Linked DNA regions of Homo sapiens: region 1 is linked to region 2. The links are contacts of gene promoters, found by promoter capture Hi-C in blood cells and fetal thymus (Javierre and others, 2016). All regions are on one chromosome and are shown on one strand. The core of a region is centred on a gene start or on the middle of the fragment in contact, and the rest is flanking DNA. Distances in the headings are between cores, read along the strand shown. Region 1 overlaps BCL2L14 (BCL2 like 14). Region 2 holds the start of DUSP16 (dual specificity phosphatase 16).

Region 1 (6,595 bases), core at 7-2,506, 480 kb before region 2:
ATCACTTGAGCCCAGGAGTTTCGCACCAGACTGGGCAACATAGCGAGACCTTGTCTCTAAAAGACAAAACAAAAAAATTAGCCAGGTGTGGTGGCATGTGCCTGTGTTCCCAGCTACTTGAGGGGCTGAGGTGAGAGAATCCCTTGAGCCGGGGAGGTTGAGGCTGTGGTGAGCTATGATCTGCACTCCAGCCTGGGCAACAGAGCAAAACTGAGTCTCAAAAAAAAAAAAAAAAAGAGAGCCTGGGGCCTAGGACAACAGCTGAACTAGAAAAAAAACATAGCTACCACTTTTGAACCAGGTTCTGTGCAGGAACTTCTCTTGTGTATCTTACACCCTTACAATATCCCTGCAAGATGACTATTATTATTTACAATTTGCCTGCAGGAAGTTCATGTTTGGAGAGATGGAGTAACCTGCCACAGGTCACAAAACTAGTCACTGGCATGGCCACAATCTGAATTTGGGACTGTTAGACTGAGAAGCCCAAGCTAATTCTTGATACGCTCACTGCCTGGGACATTTCACACGGTAGATCTGAGCTTTCTCGCATCTGAGACTAAAAGGAAAATGTAGTCCTTAACAGACAGCAGAAGGAAACAGATTATTAGCAAAAAGAACTGCTTTCCTAGCAGGAAACCAGAGAAGGAGTTATTTCATGTAAGCTCAAGCAAAGGAAATTGAACAAAATCAGTTCTTTATCTATCCTGTTATTCGTATGGAAATAAAGAAGAAATGCTTGCATCCTGTTGTTTTAGTGCTTGTACTGATCTTTTTCAAACATGCCTGTGATCACATCACTCTCTACTCAAAACTTTGAACAGCTCTCCATTGCCTCCATCAGTGTGTTTCAAATTCGTAAAAAGTAAAATAAAATAACAGGATGCTTTTTTCAGATGAAATCTTACATGGCATACCAAATATAGCAAGAAAAAAGAAAGAGAGAGAGAGAGGAGAGAGAAGCCGGGACAAGCTAAAGCAGAGGGTAGAGGGAGAAGGAACCGAGGAAGGGAAGGGTCAGGTCCCAGGCATTTCTCTTCCCTGAATTGGCCTCCCTCTTTTGCCACCTCCCCAGCAAGACCTTTAACTCCACAGTCCACAGCTCATTTTGAAATGTACTGATCAACGTGAGAAAATGCGAAGCTTCAGCCTGATAGTCAAAGACCACCATAATCTGGACCCAAGTGCTAGTTCACTTATTTTCCCTCCACTATTTTCAAGCCCTGGCTATTTGCAAACTGCATACGTATGCTGTCCCAGTTCTCTCACCACTCTTCAAACACATTCTGAATTCACCTATAATCTCCCCTCTGCCCGCCCTGTTGTAGCCCCAATATCCACCCACCTGTCTAACTCCTTCTAGCTTTCCAAAAGCTTTCACTTGCCTCTTTCTTTGAAGCTCACCTATCCCTGCCTTCTAACCTGGCTATCTGCATCTCTGTTAGACCTCTTACTTAGTTCATTAGTTCATTCTCTCTCTGTTGTTTTTTGTTTTTTGAGACGGAGTCTCACTCTGTCGCCAGGCTGGAGTGCAGTGGCGCAATCTCAGCTCACTACAACCCCCGACTCCTGGGTTCAAGCGATTCTTCTGCCGCAGCCTCCCAAGTAGCCGGGTCTACAGGCGTGCGCCACCATGCCTGGCTAATTTTTGTATCTTTAGTAGAGACGGGCTTTCACTGTATAGGCCAGGCTGGTCTTGAACTCCTGACCTCATGATCTGCCCGCCTTGGCCTCCCAAAGTTTTGGGATTACAGGCGTGAGCCACCGCACCCGGCAGTTCATTTTCTTTATGTGGAGTTATCTATGGCCATGTCTCTCTTCCCACCCTAGTAAGACTGTGGCTTTTCCCTCTCTACCCTCCAGCACAAACACAATAGATGTTCAATAAATGTTTCCTGAGTTTTCACCCCTGTCTCTCCTAACCTGCAAAGGGTAAGTGGCCCTGCATAGAAGGGCACAGTGTGGACTTTGTTGTTACAGGCCCAACATGTGTAGCACCAGTGGGTGTGACCTGGAAGAAATCCCCCTAGATGATGATGACCTAAACACCATAGAATTCAAAATCCTCGCCTACTACACCAGACATCATGTCTTCAAGAGCACCCCTGCTCTCTTCTCACCAAAGCTGCTGAGAACAAGAAGTTTGTCCCAGAGGGGCCTGGGGAATTGTTCAGCAAATGAGTCATGGACAGAGGTGTCATGGCCTTGCAGAAATTCCCAATCCAGTGAGAAGGCCATAAACCTTGGCAAGAAAAAGTCTTCTTGGAAAGCATTCTTTGGAGTAGTGGAGAAGGAAGATTCGCAGAGCACGCCTGCCAAGGTCTCTGCTCAGGGTCAAAGGACGTTGGAATACCAAGATTCGCACAGCCAGCAGTGGTCCAGGTGTCTTTCTAACGTGGAGCAGTGCTTGGAGCATGAAGGTAGGCATCTGGGATTTCTTTCTCTCCCGCTTCCTGGTTTTTCCCTTCTTTGTGTCCAGAGTGGTACATCTCTTCTCATGTTGTAAAGTGGCTTTAGAGAAGGCATGCGTTGTGCCTCAGCTTTCCAACTTATTAGTGTTCAATCATAATTGCCCTGCTTTTCTCAAGACTAAAAGGAGTTGCTGCCTGGGCGCGGTGGCTCACGCCTGTAATCCCAGCACTCTGGGAGGCCAAGGCGGGTGGATCATGAGGTCAGGAGATTGAGACCATCCTGGCTAACACGGTAAAACCCCGTCTCCACTAAAAAATACAAAAAATTAGCCGGGCGTGTTGGCGGGTGCCTGTAGTCCCAGCTACTCGGGAGGCTGAGGCAGGAGAATGGCGTGAACCCAGCAGGCGGAGCTTGCAGTGAGCCAAGATGGCATCACTGCACTCCAGCTTGGGTGACAGAGTGAGACTCCGTCAAAAAAAAAAAAATGACTAAAAGGAAATGATGGAAGTTAAGGGTGCTGGGACTGGTTTTCTTTCTCCACTGTCTATAAATAAGCTTGTTTCCCAAATTCCTAGTCCTCTGTACCAGACACCAATATAAAAGAAGGAGGCTAGGCGCAGTGGCTCATGCCTGTAATTCCAGCACTTTGGAAGGTTGAGGTGGGCAGATCATAAGGTCAGGAGTTCAAGACTAGCCTGGCCAACATAGTGAAAACCCGTCTCTACTAAAGATACAAAAAATTAGCCGGGCATGGTGGCGCATGCTTGTATTCCCAGCTACTCGGGAGGCTGGGGCAAGAGAATCGCTTGAACCTGGGAGGCGGAGGTTGCAGTGAGCCGAGATTGCATCACTGCACTCCAGCCTGAGCTACAGGGTAAGACTTTGTCTCAAAAAAAAAAAAAAAAAAGAACGAGCCCTAACCAGGGGCTTGCTTGGGCTGCCTGGGCCGCTGCTCTTCCTAAGTCAACTCATTCGCTCAGGGCCTCTGTGTTTCCATCTGTACATTGGGTACCCCACTCTCTCCACCTCGTATGGTTGATGGGAAGATCAGAGAGCAAGAGTAAAAGGACTCTTGACAAAGTACAAACCATCCTACAAAAACAACTGAGAAGCATTTAGACAAAATCTTCCCTCAGTTGGACAAAATTAATTGTACTTAATGAAACATTTTCACCAGGCACTGAGGCTCATACCTGTAATCCCAGCACTTTGGGAGGCCAAGGTGGGTGGATCGGTTGAGCTCAGGAGTTCAAGACCAGCCTTAGCAACATGGCAAAACCCTGTCTCTACCAAAAAATACAAAAAAATTAGTCAGACATGGTGGTGCACGCCTGTGGTCCTGGCTACTCGGGAGGCTGAGGTGGGAGGATGGCTTGAGCCTGGGAAGTAGAGGTTGCAGTGAGCCAAGATGATGCCACTGCACTCCAGCCTGGGTGACAGAGTGAGAGCCCATCACGTCGATACTCTCAGCACTGTGGGAAACCAAGGCAGGAGGATCACTTGACACCAAGAGTTTGAGATCAGCCTGGCATCATAGCAAGACCCTGTCTCCATTAAAAAATTAAAATAAAAAAATTAGCGAGGCATGGTGGCACATGCCTGTTGTCCCAGCTACTATGGAGGCTGAGGTGGAAGGATCACTTGAGCTCAGGAGGTCAAGGCTGCAGTGAGCGAAGATCACATCACTGCACCCCAGCTCTGGGTGACATAATGAGACTCTGTCTCCAAAAAAAAAAAAAAAAAGACAGTTGCCCTTCATGCGCACACCTTGGCATAAGCATCTTCTTCCCCTTCAACAAAGCCCAGTGCCCAAAGCCCAGATTTTTTTTTTTTTTTTAAGGTGTTTTAGATGGAGTCTTGCTCTGTCGCCCAGGCTGGAGTGCTGTGGTGTAATCTCGGCTCACTGCAAGCTCCGCCTCCCAGGTTCAAGCAATTCTCCTGCCTCAGCCTCCTGAGTAGCTGGGATCACAGGCGCGCACCACCAGGCCTGGCTAATTTTTGTATTTTTAGTAGAGACAGCGTTTCACCATGTTGGTCAGGCTGGCCTCGAACTCCTGACCTCGTGATCTGCCCACCTTGGGCTCCCGAAGTGCTGGGATTACAAGTGTGAGCCACTGCACCCAGCCGCAAAGCCAGATTTTAAAAGAAAGGCCCCCTCCTGCTGAGTTTCATTGGCCTGGGTAACTTGTCAATAATTAGTCAAGAGGTGGCAGTAATGTCTCAGTTTTTAAATGTGACAGTCCTGGCTTGCTTGGAGAATCAGCCCACTCATAGACAGCTTTAGATCACTCACTATGATCAAGGAAACTCCCTTTTCCCATTAGAGTTTCAGATGTTTAGAACAGTGGGAGTTATGGTCAGGATCATCTGAGGGAACCTCATGGCACAGACAGGATGAGGAAATGGGAGTCCCACAAAAAGGGCTTACCAAGGAAACATCCAGGAAGTAGCAGAGCCTGGACTCACCAGAAGTCCAGGCCTCTCCCTAGACTTGTTTCATTTTTACAGCAAGGCATCTGCTCTCTGAACTCTGCCCAGCTAGGGCAGGTCTAGGGCAAGAGGGAGCGGCCCCCTGTGGTCCTTCCCTCCACATCTGCCTCCCCACCCCTCAGCTGCCCTCACCCAGCCATGGCTTCTTCTGCCGGGGGTGGCATCTGGGCTCTGGGGCAAAGAACAGTTTGGAGGCACCTAAATAGGCTTTTCTACTTGGCCTGTACTGTGGACTTTGCCAGCAGACAGAGAAAGCTTTTACAGACCTTAGTCTTCTGGTTTTTCCTGAGATAAATTGCATTCTGTATTTCAGTATTTACTGGAGTGTCATTTGACATTTTTTTTATTTTCTAAAATTTCAAGAGAAGCTTTTATTTCTTTTTTCAGTAGGGAAAGAAAACTTTTATGTGAGATTGAGAATTAAAGATTACATTCAAAAACACTTAGGTGATGTGTTAATGTGCTGAATAGCTGAATAGTACCTATGGCTGAATAATATTCTCCATAAAAAATGAAAAATGATTACCTCCTAAGAAGGCTTTAAACACATATTTACAGCTTATCTTCCCTTATCACCTTTCTCCTCACGCTTGCATTTAGTCAGTTAATTGTGTGTTTTTTACTTGTGTTACTTGTGTCGGTTTTACATTGAGCGTGATCCAAGAGAGCCTCACATTCTATTTCTATTTTGCCACATACAAATCAGGCCTTGCAAATTTGGTTTCTCCTGGGTTCTTTTTTGTTTGTTTGTTTGTTGTTTTTGAGACAGAGTCTTGCTCTGTCACCCAGGCTGGAGTGCAGTGGCCTGATCTCGGCTCACTGCAACCTCTGCCTCCTGGGTTCACACCATTCTCCTGCCTCAGCCTCCCGAGTAGCTGGGACTACGGGCGCCCACCACCACGCCCGGCTAATTTTTTGTATTTTTAGTAGAGACAGGGTTTCATCGTGTTAGCCAGGATGGTCTCGATCTCCTGGCCTCGTGATCTGTCCGCCTCAGCCTCCCAAAGTGCTGGGATTACAGGCGTGAGCCACCGTGCCTGGCCTCACCTGGGTTATTTTAACTGTAAGTCACTATGTAGCCTTGTACAGCCACTGCCAGGCCTCAGTACCGGGCTTACATGGGAACTGTGAGATTATGTCCCAAGACCAAACTCTGTTAGGAAGAGGCCTCAGGATGCAGAGAAATGGACAATAACACCAGTTTTAAAGACTACCAACCCAGGCTCTTTCACTTGTGAATCTTTTGTTTCTCCATAGCTACGATTTGCTCACGTGGAATGTTATAGTTAAGGTGAGGTTCAGCGATATACAGTGGAACACTCAAATACCCATGGCTTAAATAATATACAGGTTTGCTTTTCTCTCCTTTAAAAGAGGACAAAAGTTTGGCAGCTCAGGCATGATATGACAGCTCCACAAAGTTATTAAGAATTTCTGGGAATGGCCAGGCAGGGTGGCTCATGCCTATAATCCCAGCCCTTTGGGAGTCTGAGGTGGGCAGATCACTTGAGCCAAAGAGTTTGAGACCAGCCTGAGCAACATGACAAAACCCCGTCTCTATTAAAAAAAATACAAAAATTAGCCAGGCGCCATGGTGCGCGCCTGCAGTCTCAGCTACTCGAGAGGCTGAAGGAGGAGAATCACTTGAGCCTGGGAGGCGCAGGTTGCACTGAGCTGAGATCACACCATTGCA
Region 2 (7,311 bases), core at 1-2,500:
CCGTCACCACCCAGGTGGCCTCGCTGCTTACACCAAAGGCGAACTGGGGATAATGGGAACAGTCAGGCCAGGGCCCCACTTGGCAGGCGTGTTGTGTAACAGTCGCGCCTGGAAGTGAGCAGCTTCGCCCGCAAAGGTGCCGCGTCCCGCGGCGGCCGCTCCTCTCGGCGGGGCCCGGTCCAAGCGCCGCGCAGCGGCCGGGAGCGCACCCACTGCGACCCCGCGCCCGGCCGCACGCCCCCTTCCCGCTCCGGCCAGCCTCCGGCCAGGCCTACACCCCCGCTTCAAACGCTCCTGCGGCCCCCGGCCGCGGTCGCCCCCACGCCGCCTCCCGAAAGGGTGGCCGGTACGCCCGGGAAGGCAGAGACGGCGGGGCTGGAGCGCGGCGCCCGGCACCGGGAGTCGGGGCGCGCTGCGGAGCGTCCATGCGGCCGGGCGGGAGGGCGCCCCGGGCCCCGCACCCTCCCGCCCGCACACCCCGCGCGGCCCGCCAAGGCCACTTACTTTTGGGGCCGCCGACCTCCCAATTCCCTCAGAGGGAAACGAAAGTTGTCACGGCGTCTCCCCTCGGGCCCCCCTCGCCTCCCGGACTTGCGAGGCGCCGCCGCGGAGCCGAGAGGGCGGCTGCGCTCCCGCTCGCGTCCCGTCCCGTCGCTCTCCTCCTCCTCTTCTTTTCAGTATATTATCTTCTCCTTCTCTGAGGGGTGGGTTGGGGCGGGAGGCTTAGGAAGAGAGGAGACGCTCGCAACTTTTCTTCACTCTTTCTCTTCCACCCTCCCCCCCATCAGCCTTCAAAAAAAATGTCGAAAGAGATGAAGAACTTAGGGAGGTAAAGGTGGGGGGCCGCGTTGTGAAAGTGGGGGTTGGGGGGGAGAGAGAGGTGGTAATAATCGTTTAAAAACTGATTAAAGCCCCCCAAACACTGATACATAGAAAGAGGGGGAAAGGCGGGGGGGTGGGGTGGGGGGTTGGGGGAAAGAGAAAGAGTCGCTGGTCAGGAAACTTCAAGCGCGGATGAGGTCATTGGTTTAAAAATAAAGAGATGGCGTCACTTGAAACCAATCCCAGTGAATGAACTCAGCGGAGCCCCGGGGAAAGGAGGAGACAGGCGAGGGCAGGGCGGTGGGCGCCGGGCGGGGCCGCGCGCTCGCCCATCCCGCGGCCGCCCGAGCCCGGAGCGCGGCTCCGCGCCTCGTTCCGGCCGCTCGGGGAGGGGTCAGGTCATGTTCCCTTCCAGAGTCCGGCGACTCTGAGGCAGGTTCCGCGGGCGCCGCTGGGAGGAGCCGGAGCTGCCGGAGGAGGCGGCCCCGCGGCCTCCTCCCCCACCTCTCCCTCCTCCTCCTCCTCCTCCCGCGCCCGCGCGCCCGCCCCCTACCCCCGGGCTCGCGGCCCCGACCCCCGGGCCGGGGTGTCCGCCTCCAGTGCTGCGCCCCAACAGGTATCGGAGGGTTTTCTCCCTCACCCAGACGCAGAACCTTTCCCTCCTCCTTGAGCTGTTTCCAGCTGCCTCACCAACGTCAAAAAACGCAAACACTGATTTGAGAGAATTACACTCGCTCTGTAAAAAGTCTGGCGAATGCAAAAGGCAAGGCTCTGCCATCTCTCAGGAGAGAAGTTACAGGTACTTCAAGAAAAATCACACTACTGTTGTCAGGCATTCAGCTATCTATATGTTTATGGTTGAAAGCCCCCACATAAATGTTCCTACATTACTTTACTTTGCTTATATTTACAAATACAAGGATAAGCAGCCTACATTTTCTTTAAAAATGTTTTCTACAGGAGGCAGCGCAGAAACATCTTTAAATAAGACCAGGGGTTAACCGCCTCTTGAGAGGTACAAAACCCTTGTTGATTTAACTCCACATACCTCGTGCATTTTATTATTTGAATTCATTAAAATGTCTGTTTTGAGATGACATTATGCACTTTGGAAAACGAGAGACCTGAGGTGGTGACAAACCAGGACTTGGAATCACTGAATAGGACAATCGGAGCTTTATTCCAATGTTCTTTGAGCATTTGAGCATGAAGCTGCTTCTACTGAGAAGTACTCACGTGGATATCACATAACAAAGATGTGATTAATGACGGAAAAGCACCCTGCGAGTGGACTGCTCCATGAGCCAGAATTTATGTGTAGGAATAATCTAACTCTTCAAATATTCCATTTACAATGTGCCGGATTGGGACACTAGACCCTAAAGGCACTGTTTGCTGTGGGATATCCATGTGCACCCTGCCTAAAGCACGTTTTTCCACTAGCAAAAGAACTGATAAGCAGGTTTGGGTGGGTTCGAAAGATAATACACCCCTGTTACTACTTTTCTGCCTTTAAGTCCTGCAACTAAAGGCATTCCTTATGATTGGTAATCATTGAAGGTTAGTGTTGCGGGGTATGGCCCTGGGAACTTCTGGCCCATCTTTTATAGGAGGGAAAAAAAAAGCCCATTTGAAGATGGGAGGCACCCTAGCACCTCTGGCAGTAGTAGGTAAAGCCTGAAGGCCACAGATGGAGAAGCAACTTTGAGCCTGTGCCTCTGGCCTCTTGAAGACTTTGCTAGGGGAAGCAAATCTCTCCCACTGCTCCCTGTCCTCTGGTGGCCAGGAGGTGTTACTGCAGCTTCCTTGGGATTATTTGTGCTCTACCAGGAAACCCCTAAAAATCTAACTGTAGACCTTTGTTGGAGGTGTTGGGATTTTTAGGAAGGAAGAAGAAGATAGTCCTTTTACTAGTGGTACAGAGCATGGATCTTGCCTGGAGGAAAGATTCATGAGAATTAATGGTATCCCCTTTGCATGCCAAAGTTCCAGTAACCTTGCTTTAACTGACATGGCTTGAAACGTTTCTCCCCTTTCCTCAGTTACACAATTAAGTTTGTGTAATGTATGATGTGGTGCCATCATAGCTATCATAGAAGTCTCTCAGGGTATTTCATCTATTTCTGGAAACAAGACGTATATTAAAGCTCATTAAAAACGAAATCAATGATTGAGTGATGTACAATATTGGTTAAAAGAGTCAGGGGGCCGGGCGTGGTGGCTTAAGCCTATAATCCCAGCACTTTGGGAGGCCCGAGGCGGGTGGATCATGAGGTCAAGAGATCGAGACCATCCTGGCCAACATGGTGAAACCCCGTCTCTACTAAAAATACAAAAATTAGCCAGGCGTGGTGGTGGGCGCCTGTAGTCCCAGCTACTCAGGAGGCTGAGGCAGAAGAATCACTTGAACCCGGGAGGTGGAGGTTGCAATGAGCCGAGATCGCACCACTGCACTCCAGACTCCAGCCTGGCAACAGAGTGAGACTCCATCTCAAAAAAAAAAAAAAAAACAAACAAACAAAAAAAAACATCAGGGGAGAAAAGGAGCAATGTAGGCTGGGATTATCAGGGAAGGCACCTTATAAAGAGTTTTGACCTTATCCTTGAAGGACAGTTCAGATTTAGTTTGCAGTGAAGAAGCCAGTGGAGGGAAGATTCCAGAGGGCAAATGGCAATGAGCCAAGACATGGAGGTGGAATGAATAATGAGTAAGGTGTATTCAAGTGACAGAAGAGTAAACCCAGTAGCAGTAGAAATCGGTATTTAGCAATTAGGTATGAGGTTAAATTTAAGAGATACAGAGGCACATTGTGGAGGTACTTGAATGTTAGAATAAATAGATTGTTACCTGCCCAGCAGGTGAAGGGGAAACCACTAAACAAGTTTACTTCACCGAAGAGTACATTTCTTTCTTTTACTAAGAAAGGTTTTCTACATACTAACAATAAATATGTGGAAACAGCCCTCTCCCTCTCCCGCTCCCGCTCCCGCTCCCTCTCTTTCCACGATCTCCCTCTGATGCCGAGCCGAAGCTGGACTATACTGCTGCCATCTCGGCTCACTGCAACCTCCCTGCCTGATTCTCCTGCCTTAGCCTGCTGAGTGCCTGCGATTGCAGGCACGCACCGCCACGCCTGACTGGTTTTCGTATTTTTTTGGTGGAGACGGGGTTTCGCTGTGTTGGCCGGGCTGGTCTCCAGCTCCTAACCGTGAGTGATCCGCCAGCCTCGGCCTCCTGAGGTGCCGGGATTGCAGACTGAGTCTGGTTCACTCAGTGCTCAATGGTGCCCAGGCTGGAGTGCAGTGGCGTGATCTCGGCTCGCTACAACCTCCACCTCCCAGCCGCCTGCCTTGGCCTCCCAAAGTGCTGAGAGTGCAGCCTCTGCCCGGCCGCCACCCCATCTGGGAAGTGAGGAGCGTCTCTGCCTGGCTGCCCATCGTCTGGGACGTGAGGAGCCCCTCTGCCTGGCTGCCCCATCTGGAAGTGAGGAGCGTCTCTGCCCGGCCGCCATCCCATCTAGGAAGTGAGGAGCGCCTCTTCCCGGCTGCCATCCCATCTAGGAAGTGAGGAGCGTCTCTGCCCGGCCGCCCATCGTCTGAGATGTGGGGAGCGCCTCTGCCCCGCCGCCCCGTCTGGGAGGTGAGGAGCGTCTCTGCCCAGCCACCCCGTCTGAGAAGGGAGGAGACCCTCCGCCCGGCAGCCGCCCCGTCTGCGAAGTGAGGAGCCCCTCCGCCCGGCAGCCACCCCGTCTGGGAAGTGAGGAGCGTCTCCGCCCGGCAGCCACCCAGTCCGGGAAGGAGGTGGGGCTCAGCCCCCGCCAGGCCAGCCGCCCTGTCTGGGAGGGAGGTGGGGGGGTCAGCCCCACGCCTGGCCAGCCGCCCCGTCCGGGAGGTGAGGGGCGCCTCTGCCCGGCCGCCCCTACTGGGAAGTGAGGAGCCCCTCTGCCTGGCCACCACCCCGTCTGGGAGGTGTACCCAACAGCTCATTGAGAACGGGCCATGATGACAATGGCGGTTTTGTGGAATGGAAAGGGGGGGAAGGTGGGGAAAAGATTGAGAAATCAGATGGTTGCCGTGTCTGTGTAGAAAGAAGTAGACATGGGAGACTTTTCATTTTGTTCTGTACTAAGAAAAATTCTTCTGCCTTGGGATCCTGTTGATCTGTGACCTTACCCCCAACCCTGTGCTCTCTGAAACATGTGCTGTGTCCACTCAGGGTTAAATGGATTAAGGGCGGTGCAAGATGTGCTTTGTTAAACAGATGCTTGAAGGCAGCATGCTCGTTAAGAGTCATCACCACTCCTTAATCTCAAGTACCCAGTGACACAGACACTGCGGAAGGCCGCGGGGTCCTCTGCCTAGGAAAACCAGAGACCTTTGTTCACTTGTTTATCTGCTGACCTTCCCTCCACTATTGTCCTGTGACCCTGCCAAATCCCCCTCTGCGAGAAACACCCAAGAATGATCAATAAAAAAAAAATAATAAAAAATAAAAAATAATAATAAAAAATGTGGAAACAGAAATTAAAAACAGAACCATTTTACAATTGCTCCAAAGAACGTGAAATATTTACATATAAATCTAACAAAACATGTACAACATCTGTGTGATGAAAATTATAAAATGCTGATGAAAGAAATTAAAGAAGACAAATAATTGGAATGGCATACTATATTCATGGATTGGAAGAATCAATAAACATGTCATTTCTTCCCAAATTGATCTATAGAGTTAACGTAATTTTCATCAATATCCCAGCAAGGTTTTTTGTAGTCATAAGCAATCTTAAACTAAAACAGTGTCCAACACATCTAGAGGACTGAGTGAGTGCTAGACTCCCCCAAGACAGAGGAAGAGCACATACACTTAGGGCACCAGCAAGGCAGGGAGTCCAAGGTTTACAATCAGATAATCTAGAAAGAAGCTATTTTTGCTTCAGTACATGTAAGTGTGTGGTTTAGTACTGTTTTTTAGTTAGAGTTAAATATGGGGAAGGAGCACCAAAATTGCTGGTTAGAATTAAATATGGGGGAGAAGCACCATAATCCTTAGTGTTTAGACCCTCTTAAGGTCTTACTTAATCCATCCCTGGCTGAAGTTTATTCATTGACAAACAGTGATTGAGTGCCTACTACCCTTATGTGCCAGGCACTGCACCTAGCTCTGGGAATATGGTTATAAATAAGATTACCTATCTCTCATGAAACTAACATTCAAGTGGAGAGAGAAGACAATAAGCCAATAAACAAAAACCACGGCCTGGACTGTGACAAGATGGACTACACAGGGAAAAAAAACTGGGTGAGGTGATAGTGAGTGACTTGGGGTAGGGGTGAAGGTGGTGGGGGAAGTTCAAATGAAGAGGGGACATTTGAACTGAGACCTTAAGGATGGCAACAGGGGAAGTGGTCAGGGTAGAGAAAACAGGTCACTCTAAGACCGTTCAGCAGAAACAGAGTGACTTGTAGAGAGTTGGTGTGTTCCCAGAGCCAAAGGAAGCCAGTGGGGCACAAAAGTATAAAACAAGGGTGGGCAGGAGCCAGATTATGTAGTACCTTATAGTGTATGGAGTTCAGATTCTATTCTGAAAGATTTAAGCAGTTAGTACATGATCTGATTTATGAAGAGGACATTTGCAATTAAGTAAGCATAAAAGGTTGCGTTTTAGAGAGTTGGGTTTTTTTTCAAGCAGATAAAAGCCTGTTTTGTTTGAATGGTCTATGTAATTACTGAGGCCACTATGTATAGACAAGAAAGGAGGAGCTTTATCTCTCGGTCTCTTCCTCCTTGGACAACATCTTGATGATCTCCTCCTTCTTGGCCTGGAGGCACTCGTCATGAAGTTTGCACACTTCCTTAGTCTTAGGCCAGTGGGCCTCAGCCTGGTCCACCAGGAGCTTCTTGCGGGACTTGTCTACCTTCAGCTTGCGGACAATTCCATGAGAATACGCTTGTTTTTGAACACAATCCCTTTCACCTTCTGGTACAGAGTGTAATACATGTGGCAATCAGTCTTCTTAGATTCACAGTATCTTCTAAGAAGCTGGCACAGAATCCTCATTCTCCTTATCCAGGTTACCTTCCCTGGCCTTTGGGCATTGGCTGTACCTTCTTGCTTACCTATGCCCAGGTGCCTGCCCTTCCGATGGTCCAAGGTTTTCTGGCATCAAGGAGCCTGGGAATGGACAGGCACAGGCTTGCGGATGATCAGCCCATGTTTGATCAGCTTCTGGATTTGCTGATGGGAGTTAACATTGGTCTCTGGGAGCCAACCAGACCTTCTTTTTGCCACAGCAAAAGACATTAGAGGAAAACTTCCTCTGAAGCCTGAGCATATGCATGGCTTCAGCTGCAGCAGCAAAAACAGTTTTAATATTCTCTATTTTTTAGGTAATATAACAGCTCCCTTTTCCAATAGGAAGAGAGAGTTTTTGACAATTTTGTTAATCTCCAAGGATCCTTTGAATGTTCCTAAGTCAAATGTTCTT

Evidence for each region. The method cuts DNA at HindIII sites, captures the fragments that hold promoters and counts their contacts. A CHiCAGO score of 5 or more calls a contact.
Region 1: a contact is called between a fragment that was not itself captured here and the fragment with the promoter of DUSP16 in region 2, in 1 of 17 cell types (endothelial precursors). The highest score is 5.0, in endothelial precursors.

Annotation. Positions count from the first base shown.
Region 1 is chr12:12,077,319-12,083,913 of GRCh38, forward strand. It overlaps BCL2L14 (BCL2 like 14), which reads left to right. Exons shown (of 6, transcript NM_138723.2): 2 at 1,981-2,420. The coding sequence starts at 1,988. Among named protein-coding and RNA genes, the nearest start is that of BCL2L14, 9.7 kb to the left of the region's middle. RefSeq lists a silencer at 4,517-4,811. The HindIII fragment of the contact is 231 bases long and covers 1,142-1,372 here.
Region 2 is chr12:12,561,613-12,568,923 of GRCh38, forward strand. DUSP16 (dual specificity phosphatase 16) reads right to left here and starts at 1,251. Exons shown (of 7, transcript NM_030640.3): 1 at 505-1,251. It also overlaps the pseudogene RPL19P17. RefSeq lists silencers at 151-350, 371-490, 521-600, 1,051-1,560. The HindIII fragment of the contact is 13,074 bases long and covers 1-7,311 here.